2 separate regions of the Homo sapiens genome follow, and region 1 is linked to region 2. The links are contacts of gene promoters, found by promoter capture Hi-C in blood cells and fetal thymus (Javierre and others, 2016). All regions are on one chromosome and are shown on one strand. Each heading gives the region's core, a stretch centred on a gene start or on the middle of the fragment in contact. The rest is flanking DNA. Distances are from core to core; before and after follow the strand shown. Region 1 overlaps LOC124901228 (translation initiation factor IF-2-like). Region 2 holds the start of FAM135A (family with sequence similarity 135 member A).

What was found. The method cuts DNA at HindIII sites, captures the fragments that hold promoters and counts their contacts. A CHiCAGO score of 5 or more calls a contact.
Region 1: a fragment that was not itself captured here is called in contact with the fragment with the promoter of FAM135A in region 2 in 1 of 17 cell types (activated CD4 T cells); the score reaches 5.1 in activated CD4 T cells.

What each region holds. Positions count from the first base shown.
Region 1 is chr6:63,562,556-63,568,854 of GRCh38, reverse strand. It overlaps LOC124901228 (translation initiation factor IF-2-like), which reads left to right. Exons shown (of 2, transcript XM_047419610.1): 2 at 1-2,620. It also overlaps a transcript of LGSN not described here and a transcript of PTP4A1 not described here. Among named protein-coding and RNA genes, the nearest start is that of PTP4A1, 6.8 kb to the left of the region's middle. The HindIII fragment of the contact is 1,991 bases long and covers 1,153-3,143 here.
Region 2 is chr6:70,411,807-70,417,913 of GRCh38, reverse strand. It overlaps FAM135A (family with sequence similarity 135 member A), which reads right to left and starts at 4,406. Exons shown (of 22, transcript NM_001162529.3): 1 at 4,212-4,406; 2 at 2,538-2,623. FAM135A-AS1 (FAM135A antisense RNA 1) reads left to right here and starts at 3,956. Exons shown (of 2, transcript NR_147708.1): 1 at 3,956-4,077; 2 at 4,852-5,086. RefSeq lists silencers at 3,890-4,039, 4,380-4,599. The HindIII fragment of the contact is 2,225 bases long and covers 3,152-5,376 here.

The DNA.
Region 1 (6,299 bases), core at 899-3,398, 6.8 Mb after region 2:
ATATTTAACAAGAGTCCTAAAAATTCAAGTATGCCATGGCTGCTGTCAGCATTGTTAAAGTTTATTTCCCTCTTGCTGTTTTAGAACAGCCTATTTTATATCCAATTAATTTTCTTATATGATTATTAAAAATAAATATGTAGTATACAGGCATACCTTCATTTATTGTGCTTTGCAAATATTGTTTTTTTTTTTTAACAAAATGATGGTTTGTGACAGCTTTTTGTCGAGCAAGTCTATCAGAGCCATTTTTCCAATAGCATGTGCTCATTTCATGTCTCTGTGTTACATCTTGGTAATTCTCCCAATATTTCAAACTTTTAAATTATTATTGCATTTGTTATGGCAATTTGTGAACAGTGATCTTTGATATTGTTATTGGAATTGTTTTGGGCCACCACAAACTGTACCCATTTAAGATGGCAAACTTATTTGATAAATGTTGAATATATTCTGACTGCTCCGCTGATGGGCCAGTCCCTCAGTGAGACACAGCAATACTGAAATTAGGCCAATTAATAACCCTACAGTGGCCTCTGAGTGTTCAAGTGAAAGGAAGAGTCATTCATCTCTCACTTTAAATCAAAGCTAAAAATGATTAAGCTGAGTAAGGCAAGTTGAAAGCAGAGATAGGCCGAAAACTAGGCCTCATACCCAAAACAGTCAAGTTGTGAATGCCAAGGAAAAGCTCTTGAAGGAAGTTAAAAGTGCCACTCCAGTGAACACAGGAATGATAAGAAAGTGAAACAGCCTCATTGTTGATAAGGAGAAAGTTTTAGAGTTCTGGATAGAAAACCAGCCACAGCATTCTCTTAAGTCAAAGCCTAATTCAGAGCAAGGCCTTAACTCTCTTCATTTTTATGAAGGCTGAGAGAGGTGAGGAAGTTGTAGAAGAAAAGTCTGAAGATAGCAGAGGTGGATTCATGAGGTTTAAGAGTAGAAGCCCTCTCCCTAACATAAAAATGAAAGGTGAAGCAGTAAGTGCTGATGGAGAAGCTGCAGCAAGTTATTGAGAAGATTTAGCCAAGAACATTGATGAAGGTGGCTACACTAAATAACAGATTTTCAATGTAGACAAAACAGTCTTATACTGGAAGAAGATGCTGTCCAAGACTTTCATAGCTATAGAAGTCAATGCTTGGCTTCAAAGCTTCGAAGGACAGGCAGTTCTCTTGTTAGGGGCTGATGTGGCTGGTGACTTTAAGTTGAAGCAGATGTTCATTTACCATTCTGAAAATCCTAGGACCCTTAAAAATTATGCTAAATCTACTCTGCTGTGCTCTATAAGTGGAAGAACAAAACCTGGTTGACAGCACATCTGTTTAGCATGGCTCACTAAATATTTTAAGTCCACTGTTGAGACCTACTGATAAAACGTGATTTATTTAAAAATACTATTGCTCCTTGACAATGCACATGGTCACTGAAATGCTCTGATGGAGATGTACAAGGAGAGTAATATTGTTTTCATGCCTTCTAACACAGCATCCATTCTGCAACCCATGGATCAAGGAATAATTTTGACTTTCAGGTTTTAATATTTAACAAGTACATTTCATAAGGTTATAAATTGCTGTAGATGGTGATTCCTCTGATGGATCTAAGCAAAGTAAACCAAAAACATTCTGGAAAGGATTCTAGATGCCATTAAGAACATTCATGAGAGGAGGTAAAAGTATCAGCATGAACAGGAGTTTGAAAGAAGTTAACTCCAACTCTCATGGATGACCTTGAGGGCGTTCAAGACTTCAGTGGAGGAAATCACTACAAATATGGTGAAAATAGCAAGACAATTGGAGTTAGAAACAGAGTCTGAAGAGTTGACTAAATCGCTGCAATTTTATGATCAAACTTGAATGAATGAGGAGTTGCTTCTTATGAAGGAGAAAAGAGAGTGGTTTCTTGAGATAGAATCTACTGCTGGTGAAGATGCCGTAAGCATTGTTGAAATGATAAAGGATTTAGAATATCACATAAACTTAGCTGATAAAGCAGTGGGTGAGTTTTAAGAGGACTGATTGCAACTTTGAAAGGAGTTCTCTTGTGTGTAAAATACTATCAAACAGCACTGCCTGCTACAGAGAAATTTTTTGTGGAGTCATCAATGCAGCAAACTCCATTGTCTTATTTCAAGAAATTGCCACAGCCACCTTAACCTTCAGCAACTACCTCCCTGATCAGTCAGCTGCCATCATCACTGAGGCAGGATTCTCCAACAGCAAAGATTATGACTTGCTGAAGGCTCAGATGACTGTTAGCATTTTTTAGCAAAAGTATTTTTAAATTAAGGTATTCTAGGGTACCCGTTTTCCCCACTTCCTTTCTGTGTCTTGACCAAAATCACAGTGACCCAGCCAGCTGTAGCCATAGGTTTTCCTCAGCTGGCTTGAACCCAAACCAGCTTGAACATTCCCAGGCACTGATAATAATGTCTTGGTTTACTGGAAAGAAACTGACCCCGACCCTGAGCCGAATTCCTTAAATTTTCATGTAAACTCCATCCCCTCACCCCCTGGCTACAGACTAATGTGGGTAAAACATCCCTTTTCTCTTGCTGTCCATCACAATAATACATTGCAACACCCTGCAAGTTCCTTTAATAAATGTTTTGGACTGATCACTCTGGCATTTAGAGCTGCTTTCTTTGAAATCTCAAACCAGCCCTGTCTTCAAATGGTTTGGGGTACTCTGTTGTACGAATTCTCCTGCTGCTGCTTTTAAGGCAACTCCAGCTATGGGTTCAGTGGGACAAAACAGGTATGTACATTTTTTAGACATAGTGCTATGCACATTTAACAGACAACAATGTAGTGTAAATGGGAAACCAAAAAATGCATGTGGCTTCCTTTATTGTAATACCTGTTTTATTGTGGTGGTCTGGAGCTGAACTTGCAATATCTCCAAGGTATGCCTATGCTTAAATCTCTATGAACATATAATTTGCAGTGCTTAAATATTGTTCAAAACTAAAACATGCTCTATATTAAAAAGTGACTTAATTTTCTTCCTTAAGACATTGATTTAAAGATTTATCAAAAGTCTTTTGAGTAAGTTTTGATGAATAATCAAAATGCTGTAGCAGAGCTACATCCTAATTTCTGTGGGAAATTTAGACACAGAAATTTCCAATGAGCAAATAAGCTTGTCACAACAAGCCTTTTAAGGAATCTGGCCTAAGGACAAAGTCCAAAGGCCAATAGCTGCCTGTGGGCTACTGTGTTTTGTTGAGTCAGACATATAGAAACAGTCACCCACCTAGGAGGGTACTACAGATGTAAATATTTATATTAATAAATGAATCCTGCTGGATCAGAAGTAACATCTTATCAAGTCATCATATCAAACCATTTGAGGTAATATTTTCTCTGTAAAATTGATTAAGGCAGTTTTGAACAACTTTTTTTTTTAAAGTCTATTTTAAGAAACAATTCTCTTGAATCGATCTCTATTATGCCCATTCTCTGTCCCTTTTTCATGTCTAATTGTAATCAATTTAAATATAAACCTGAAAGTTGTCTAGGTAGTCTCCAAATCAAATGAGAATGTGTATTCACATTAGTAACTCTGCCGCTTAATATAGTATTTACTTCTGTAGGAGCTTAGTGTGTGTATTAAGATGTGACAGATACCGCCTGGGCAACACAGTCAGACCCTGTCTCTACAAAAAAAAAAAAATTATCTGGGCATGATGGTGCATTCCTGTAGTTGTAGCTCCCTCGGAGGTTGAGGTGGGAGGATTGCTTGAGCCCAGGAGTTGTTAGGGCTGCAGTGAGCTGTGATCATGCCACTGCACTCCATCTGGGGCAACAGACCAAAGACCCTCTCTCTCAAGGAAAAACAAAAAAGAAATGATGGACAGATTGATTAGTAAGAGAATACTTTTCATTTGCATGCTGAAAGGCACCATTTCCTTGGGGCACTGAATAAAGGACTTATTATGAATCTATCCATAACTCATGACTGTTTTGCCTACTGGTACCTGGAGGAATCTAGTTTGAGAAGACTCTTCTTATTTTAGCAAATTTGGTGAAATTTCTGTTGCTGTTCTATAGCCTGAATAAAAATCATTTGGGAATTGAAAATCAGGAAGGCCACAGTCTCCATGTGATTGTTTAGAACATGTTGAATTATGCCACAGTCTGAACTGAGGCAAAAATAGCTTAGGAAAGGAGAATTTAATCTGGCTAGAGAAAGGGAATGGAGTATAAATAAATTTTAAAGGTTGGATATGCATGCTATGGCAAAGCTGTCACTTGACAGGTTTAATTTACAGAGTTGGCATTTAGGCTGCAGATAATCCAGACAGACAGTGACCTAAGCAGCATTACTGGGGCAGGCCTTACATAAGGAGAAATGTTGTTGAACAATTTCCTGCAAGCATAATAACATTTATTTAACAAAAGCTACAACAGTCATGCTTTTTTCTTATCCTAACACAGTTGCTTTTTAACTAGGGATGTTCAACAAACGTTGCTATCTTCGTGTATTTCTATAGTTCCATTCATGGCTGGAAGATACTGAACATAAGAGAAAATGAGTATAGAAGCCTTTTGAAATTTCTCTCTTTTTTTTTTTTTTTGAGACAGAGTCTCGCTCTGTCACCCAGGCTGGAGTGCAATGGTGCAATCTTGGTTAACTGCAACCTCCGTCTCCCGGGTTCAAGTGATTCTCCTGCCTCAGCCTCCCAAGCAGCTAGGATTACCAGGCACCTGCCACCACACCCGGCTAATTTTTGTATTTTTAGTAGAGATGGGGTTTCTGCATGTTGGCCAGGCTGGTCTCGAACTCCTGACCTCAAATGATCCGCCTGCCTTGGCCTCCCAAAGTGCTGGGATTACAGGCGTGAGCCACCATTAAATATAGTTGTCCTATAATGTATTTCTTTAATCCTCAGACATATTAATGCACATAGTAAATACTCAACCACTATTTATTTGCATACTATCATATTACTTTCCCACATAAAATTCTATTAGGGCATCCTATTCCCAGTTTTTCTAAGTTTTCTTTGCAGGGTTCTTAGTCTCTCAATCCCGTTAACAATGGTGTTCACTGGAGTTTTGTCCTAGGGCCTCCTGGACTCACTTTCCACTTTCCTTGGGGTTTTCACCTACATCCATAGCTGTGGCTGTCAACCTTCCCTCCTTCCCCAACACATATGTGTTAAATGCCTAGCATATGCCAGGCACTCTGCTATCTTATGAATAACATAAACATGTTTTCTGCCCCAATGAAATTTATATACAGGTGAGAAAAGAGAGAAAATAACAAGTAAATAAGCATAGAATATATTTATAATCTGTGCTGTGAAGGAGGTCAACAGAATGGCTGGGGTGACTTACTTTAGACAGTGAAGTCAGGGGTGGTGTCTCCCAGGAGATCCAGATCTAAATGATGAGAATGAATCACAAAAAGAGGGGGAGGAAGAGAGATATTTTTGGTGGAGGAAATGACAACACAGAATTTCAGGTGGGAGTTTGGTTGGTACTCAAGGAGTTGGAAGACCTGAGGGACTGCAGCAATACAAGGGAAGGAAATAAGCCTGGACATCTAGCAGGGACTGGATCACGTAGGACCTTGTAGGCCATGGAAAGGATTTGGATTTATTTTGCTGACAGTGAATCACACCACATATCAGGAAATTTGTTTTAAGAGAATTGTTTTTCTGTTCTGTGGAGAATGGATTGGAGAAGGCCCTAGAGTAGAATTATTTTAACAGGGTGAAACACTTGAGATTTCCTGCCTTGTCAAATGGAAGACAATGTTGGTGTTGACTATGATCAGGACAGTGGAGGCAGAGAAAAGTGGAGAGATTAGAAATATGGAAATAAAATGGAGAAGTTTTACATCACAAAATGCCACACTGCCTCTAAAAATTGTCAAAGGCCAAACAGAGATATAAGGCCATGGTTTTGAGCCTGTTTTATGCTATGGTGCTGAATGTATAGGCACACTGATGAAAAGTTCCATAATTTCACATTTTCATTAGCAATATGTTTGTAGGGAATAAACCAGAAACTTAAAATAAATAAAGGCACTCAAAGTATGCTTAGAGAAAGACACTATTTCTGAGGGTTTTGAGAATATAGCAGCGGGACTCCTAAAAGTTGTATATTTAGGTATTAAGAGAACAATTAAACTCTTGATAGATTACAATAACAGCAAGAATAGCTAAAACTTATTGTGCTCTTGTTGTTTTCCAAGCCATGTGCTAAACACATATTTGCACTGTTTTGTTGAATTTATTAGAATACTCAGACTCTGAGATAGAAATTAGTTAAAAAATCAACTCATAGTGG
Region 2 (6,107 bases), core at 3,157-5,656:
AGCTATATGTTTCTCTGTTGATGATACCAAATATAGTAAACCTGAGGCTGTTCTAAAAATCTGGGATTCTCAATTCCAAAAGATAAAAGAGATGGTAAAGGGTATACAGGCTTCCACAGTCTTACATTTTTTATTGCCAATAAGGGCTGACCTTGCTGCTTAGACATTTATAGATAGCAGTATTTCCAATGTAAGCCCTTGACTTGCTGGCAATCTGAAGACATCAAAGAGCAAGTGTCATAGTTAACACTGCTCTAAAAACAATCATGAATGAAACAGCTGCATCCTATAGGCAACTTCAAGGGTATTTCAATAAAGGAATACTTATTCTAGTTCAGGTTAAATTAAGACCAGTAGCAAAAGAACATTTCATAACACTTAACAGAAATGTCCCAGACTACAGCCAGGCATAGTAGTTCATGCCTGTAATCCCAGCACTTTGGGTGGCTGAGGCGGGAGAATCACTTGAGGCCAGGAGTTTGAGACCTGCTGGCCAATATGGTGAAACCCCATCTCTACTAAAAATACAAAAATTAGCCAGGTGTGGTGGCCTGGGCATGTAATTCCAGCTACTTGGGAGGCTGAGGCACATGAATCGCTTGAATCCGGGAGGTAGAGGCAATACAGTGGGACTCTGTCAAAAAAAAAAAAAAAGTCCCAGTCTATTATCAATATATTTATAACATAATTTAGAAATATGTTCTATATTCTGTATGATCTCATAGAGACCTAATGCCATAAAAGGAAATATGCTATAATTTTCTCAGAATGGTTTCTCGGTTGAGAGATAGTTTATCAAATTTTTTTCATCAAAATAAGAACTACCTGAAGGGTTAGTTACTCAAGTAGGAGATGTCTCTTAATGGTATAATATGCCTGATACTTTTACATTTCTATTAGGAAAAAAGAAGCTAATATTTCTTCTAAATTTAGCACATTATCAATAACCAAGTATGTACCTGTTAACAACTGCCAATCTTTAAAAATAAAATGTGAACCTACTGTGGAGTTGTTTCACCTTATTCCTTCTGAAAAACCTAGACCTGCCTAATCACTTATGCTTTGTAACTTTTCTGAAAAACCACTGAGTCCATTAAGAATGATTTCTTCTATATTACCATTCTGCTTCTTATTCCTCTTTCTTTCTTTTAATTAGGAGAGGGTTTCGCTCTGTTGCCCAGGCTGGTCTTGAACTCCTGGCCTCAAGAGATCCTCCTGCCTCAGCCTCCCCAAGTGCTAGAATTACAGGCATGAGCCACCACACCCCACCTTATTCCTAGTCATCTCTAAACCTTCTTCCTGACAAACAACTCATGAAAAAACACTTCAAATCTATATGCCCTCAGCTCCATCCATTTATTTAAATGCACACATGTACATATAAAAAACTCAATGTTAAAGCACTTTTTCCTCAATACCTAGAATCAAAGCAAAGGAAATCCTTGGCTTTTCTACCCCCTAAACAGCCCTCACAACAAGGATTTAATGTAAACAAAATAAAGATTTTATTTAATGTAAACAAAATAAAAATATAAAACAGAAAATTAAGGATTAACTAAAGATATAGGTGTAACTCTTACATTTCCTTTCAGTGTCAACTCGTGGCAAACAAAAGGAATATCTGTTTTACAAACTGAATGCTGCAGTGTCTGTTTCACTGTGTATGAACATTAACTAATGTGTGAACATTAGTTAATGTACTAATTAGAAAACTCTAGTACATTAGAACTGCTGCTTCTCAAGGAAGCTTGCACTTCTTTCAAAGCCAGGTCATTTTATTTGGTACATCTATCTAGTACATTAGAAAAGTCTAATAGAGTGCTAGTCCACAGTTCACCAGCATTCTACTAGACTTTTCACAGAAGTCTGAAATTTAAAAAAGAAATGTTTGATTTGGGATTTAAGCAGTCAATTATACTCTTACTACACAGTCTAAAATTAAAGAGATAAAAACTAAGTATTTATATAGCAATTTTTGTCTGCGGTGGCCCTAAGCATGTTTAAATGATTAGGGCTTGCTTTGCTATTAATTACTTTACAGCTGGAGATACTGAGATACACAGGTTAAGTGGGTTCTACAAACTAATGTCATGAGTCATCATAAGAGTTCATATATTCTGACTAGAAATTCTAGTCTTCTGCCTGCTGTCCACCACAAATCCCTATTTAATTTATAAGAGCACAGGAACCAACTCACTAAAAATACCAGCAAGAATTTGTAGGCATTTACTTTTTTAAAATGAATGTTTACCTAAAAATAAAAAGACCTGGCTTTTTATTTGAAGGAAGTGCAAGCTTCCTTGAGAAGCAGCAGTTTCTTTATTTGCATTTGAAAAATCATTTTTAAAAAATCTTAAAAGCTGATGAGTGCATCACCTCTTACCATACACAATTGCTAGTTCTTCTCAAAGAAGTGTGGTTTGATGACACCAGAGCCTCCTAGTTTTACTTTAAATCACTTTGAATAAGGAACTACACTTTTTTTTTTGCCTTGGTATTTCCCTTCTTAAAACAGAAACAGAAAACTTAATTCCTACCTGACACAGACAACATAAGGAAGAATTTGTTTGTGGACTGCTTTGAGATTCCAGAACCAAATACATAATCCAGTTGATCTTCAACCCTACAATAAAGACAAACTTCACTAAACATAATTGCTTCAGCAGATGCCTTCAAAATAAGATACTATACCATTATTTATGGAAAGAGAAGTTTTATTTAAGCCAAATCTTGATCACAATGCAATGGAGGAAAAAAATTACAAAACCGTTTAGAAAGTTCTTCTGCTCAATTAAAAAATTTAATACTTCTCACGTATGTCTCCTATAAGCACACTAATTCTAAAGGTAGCAGAAATTGTATGCATTTATTAGAGAACAGAGACTCTCAGGAAAATTATGCAATCAATTGCAATAGCAAATGTATAAAACAAATTAATAATACATTTTAAAAAAGAAATTCTGTTAAATTTCATTTAAGATTAGTTCTTGGACAGCTACACCTAATGGAGGACAAGAAAATTTCCAAATTTTAAGTGTATGTTTGTAGGTCAACCTTTAACAAGTCTTAACCCATTATAGTTTCATTTAGTCTGTACTCAAGTTGCTTTCCCAGGCATGCCAGGTAAACATAATTCTTAAAAATTAAAGCTTTAATCAGTAAGTGTAACCGATTTGTTGCTACTGTCACTCTTTTGATGATACTTCCACCAACCGGTAAAGAAAGAAGAAATGTTATTAAACTGGAAGATGAACTAGAAACATTGAGTGGATACCTAGCTTAGGCAGAAAGCAGCAAGGACTAGAAGGGTATGTCACAAAGAAGTCTTCAGAGATTTAATAAAAAGTAAAACAAATGGAATGAAGTTAAGAGGCTTGACTTATACAAATGGGGGGGGGAGGGTGGAAGAGTTTTGGAGGGGAAAAAATTAAGATTAGAGACTCACTGGGTGCAGAATGGAAAAGGACGTGAGGATAGGGGCCATTAGACAGAAAGCGATGAAGCAGGGTACCAGAGGAAAGAGAAGGCAGTGAGGGTTTCCGAAGCTAAGATGGGGCATGGAATGAACTCCAATGCAAAGCGATGCTAAAGCAAAACACAATCGGCAACTAACAAAAAGGGAACCAGGAGGAAGTACCGAAAGGAGGTGGATGAGAGGAAAATAAAACCAAGGAAGAAATTATGGAGGTAACAAGAGTGAGAAACCTGGTCGGCCAGGGTAAGGAGCTCCGGACAGGGAAGAGCCAGGCAAGGGATGGAAGCACAGAGATACGCTGCTTCCCAAGGAGGGACCACCCGGGCAAAAAGACACGTGGGAGGCGCGGGATGAAAAAGCAGAACCACGAAAGCGGGTAAAGGAGGGACAGAGCGACGAAGATGGAGCAGGGGTGAAGGGCAAACACGCTAGGCGCGAGGTTCAGGAAGAACGGGTCGAGGGACGCGCGCAGGGGCAGGGGCGGCCGCGGGCACCGGGAGAGCAGCGCGCCGCGGCCCCTCGCCTCCCTCAGAGCGCTCCGCACCGCCGTCCCCACCGACCTTCAACGGGGCCGGGGCCAGGCTCCGACCGCCAGCAGTCGGGTGAGGGGCCGCGGCGGGCGAACGGCGGACGAAGAGGAGGCCGCTTCCTTCCTGGCCCCTGGGCAAGAGGGACGGAGGGAGGGGTCGTGGGTGTCGGGAGCCGGGGGAGCCAGAGGGGACAGTAAGGGGGTTACCTCTCGCCCGGCTCGGCCTCTTCCCCCGCCTGTCGAACGGAGGAGCTCGTTGTCCAGCTGCAAGAAGACGGCCCGACCCGGGTCAGCACCATCCCGCCCCGGGCCCCCTCACATCGCCATCACAGCAACCGCAAACACCGCAACCGCGGAGCCGGTTCGTCACCGCGGCTCGGCTACTGGCCCAGCGCGGCCAGCGAGCATGCGCAGTCGCCCCAGTCCCGAGGGAGCCCGGGCCAGCCGGCTATACCTGCGATCAACAGGTCCCCGGCCGCACGGCCCCGCCCCCGGCCTCTCTCACCTCCTCCTCCCGCCTCTTCCCTCCCCTCTCTGAGGCTAGGCCCCGCCCCTTCAAGCTCCGTGCCCCGCCCTTCAGGAGCTTCAACTGCCCCTCCAGCTCCAGCGCCAACTGAGATTTCGAGAGATTTGTCCTCCCTACCAGGCTCCCGTTCCCAAGTTCCCGCGAGAACGGGAGGTTTGCGTCAATAAAAGGCGCGCGTCAAGAAAAGGGGCTCGCTTGTGGGTTTAAGGGATGGAACTTGGAGGTGGTTGAAGAGTAGTGAACAAGAAGAGGGCAAAAACACGGAGTTCGAGAACTTTAGCCGTTTTTCTCACAATGTTGTTTCTCCTTTTCTCTCTTTAGCTCCTCCGTGCAGTCCCGGGTAGAGAGCCCGGTCCCTGCGCTAGTCGATTTGTGCAGTAGGAAAGGAGGCTGCAGGGGATCTGCGCCGGGGCAGGACAGATGCCTTTCGGGACCCAGTGTTTGCATCTTGGGAGATGTGGGTGCTGATCTGGTTGTTTCTTGGTTTATGACGCCAAAAAGGGCGGGAGGGGGCTGATGAAGTGAAGCCTTTCGCTAATACATTCCGTTAACAGAAGCCCACGAAGGATCATTGATTTATTTCACTCTTCCCTGTTTCTGAACCTTATCTGGCAAAAACTTTTGTGGTGCATAAAGTTCAGTATGTTGCTAAAGCTGAGTTAATGAAAGGAAAATTTCAGCTGCGACTCTTGTTTTAAAAATGAATCTAGGATGGATAGTGGTGTTGGTTGCACAACAATGAATGGACATAATGCTACTGAACTGTGCACTTAAAAATGGTTAAAATGGTAAATTTTCTGTTATGTATATTTTACCACAATAAGAATGAATTAGAAGGGAAAAGCTTTGTGCATTCATTTGAAAGTAATGGTGAGGTCTTGTAACGTAGGCCATTTAGGGGACAGGTTTTGAATATATCTTTGTACCAGTTTTTTTTTTTTTCGAGTGTGTGTGTGAGACAGAGCATTGCTCCGTCGCCCAGGCGGGAGTGCAGTAATGTGATCTCGGCTCACTGCAACCTCTGCCTCCGGAGTTCAAGCAATTCTCCTGTCTCAGCCTCCCTAGTAGCTGGGACTACAGGCGCACACCACCACGCCTGACTACTTTTTGTATTGTTAGTAGAGACGTGGTCTCACCATATTGGTCAGGCTGGTTTCGAACTCCTGACCTTAGGTGATCCACCCGCCTTGGCCTTCCAAAGTGCTGGGATTACAGGCCTAAGACACCGTGCCTGGCTTGTACCAGTTTTTACATGATTGGGTGTCCTCTTATCCTGTGAACCAATTTATTTGCATTTGTATGAATGGCCTGCTTTCCTGATTTCTAATTTGTCCCTTCTTTTATAGCCCTATACCATTTTACTATCCTTGCTAAACAGGCTTTTATTGCTTGTTTTGTGACTTGAACTTTAGCCTCAAAATTGGAAAGGCTTTTTCTGTTTTTTTTTTAGTTCCAGCCATGTCTTAGGAAAATATAGTAAACAACCAATTATTTGCATTTCCACGTCCGTGCATCCCTAAAACACACAGTGTGCCAAGATTCTTTCCCTGTTCCACGTTCTTTTTATTCAAATCACA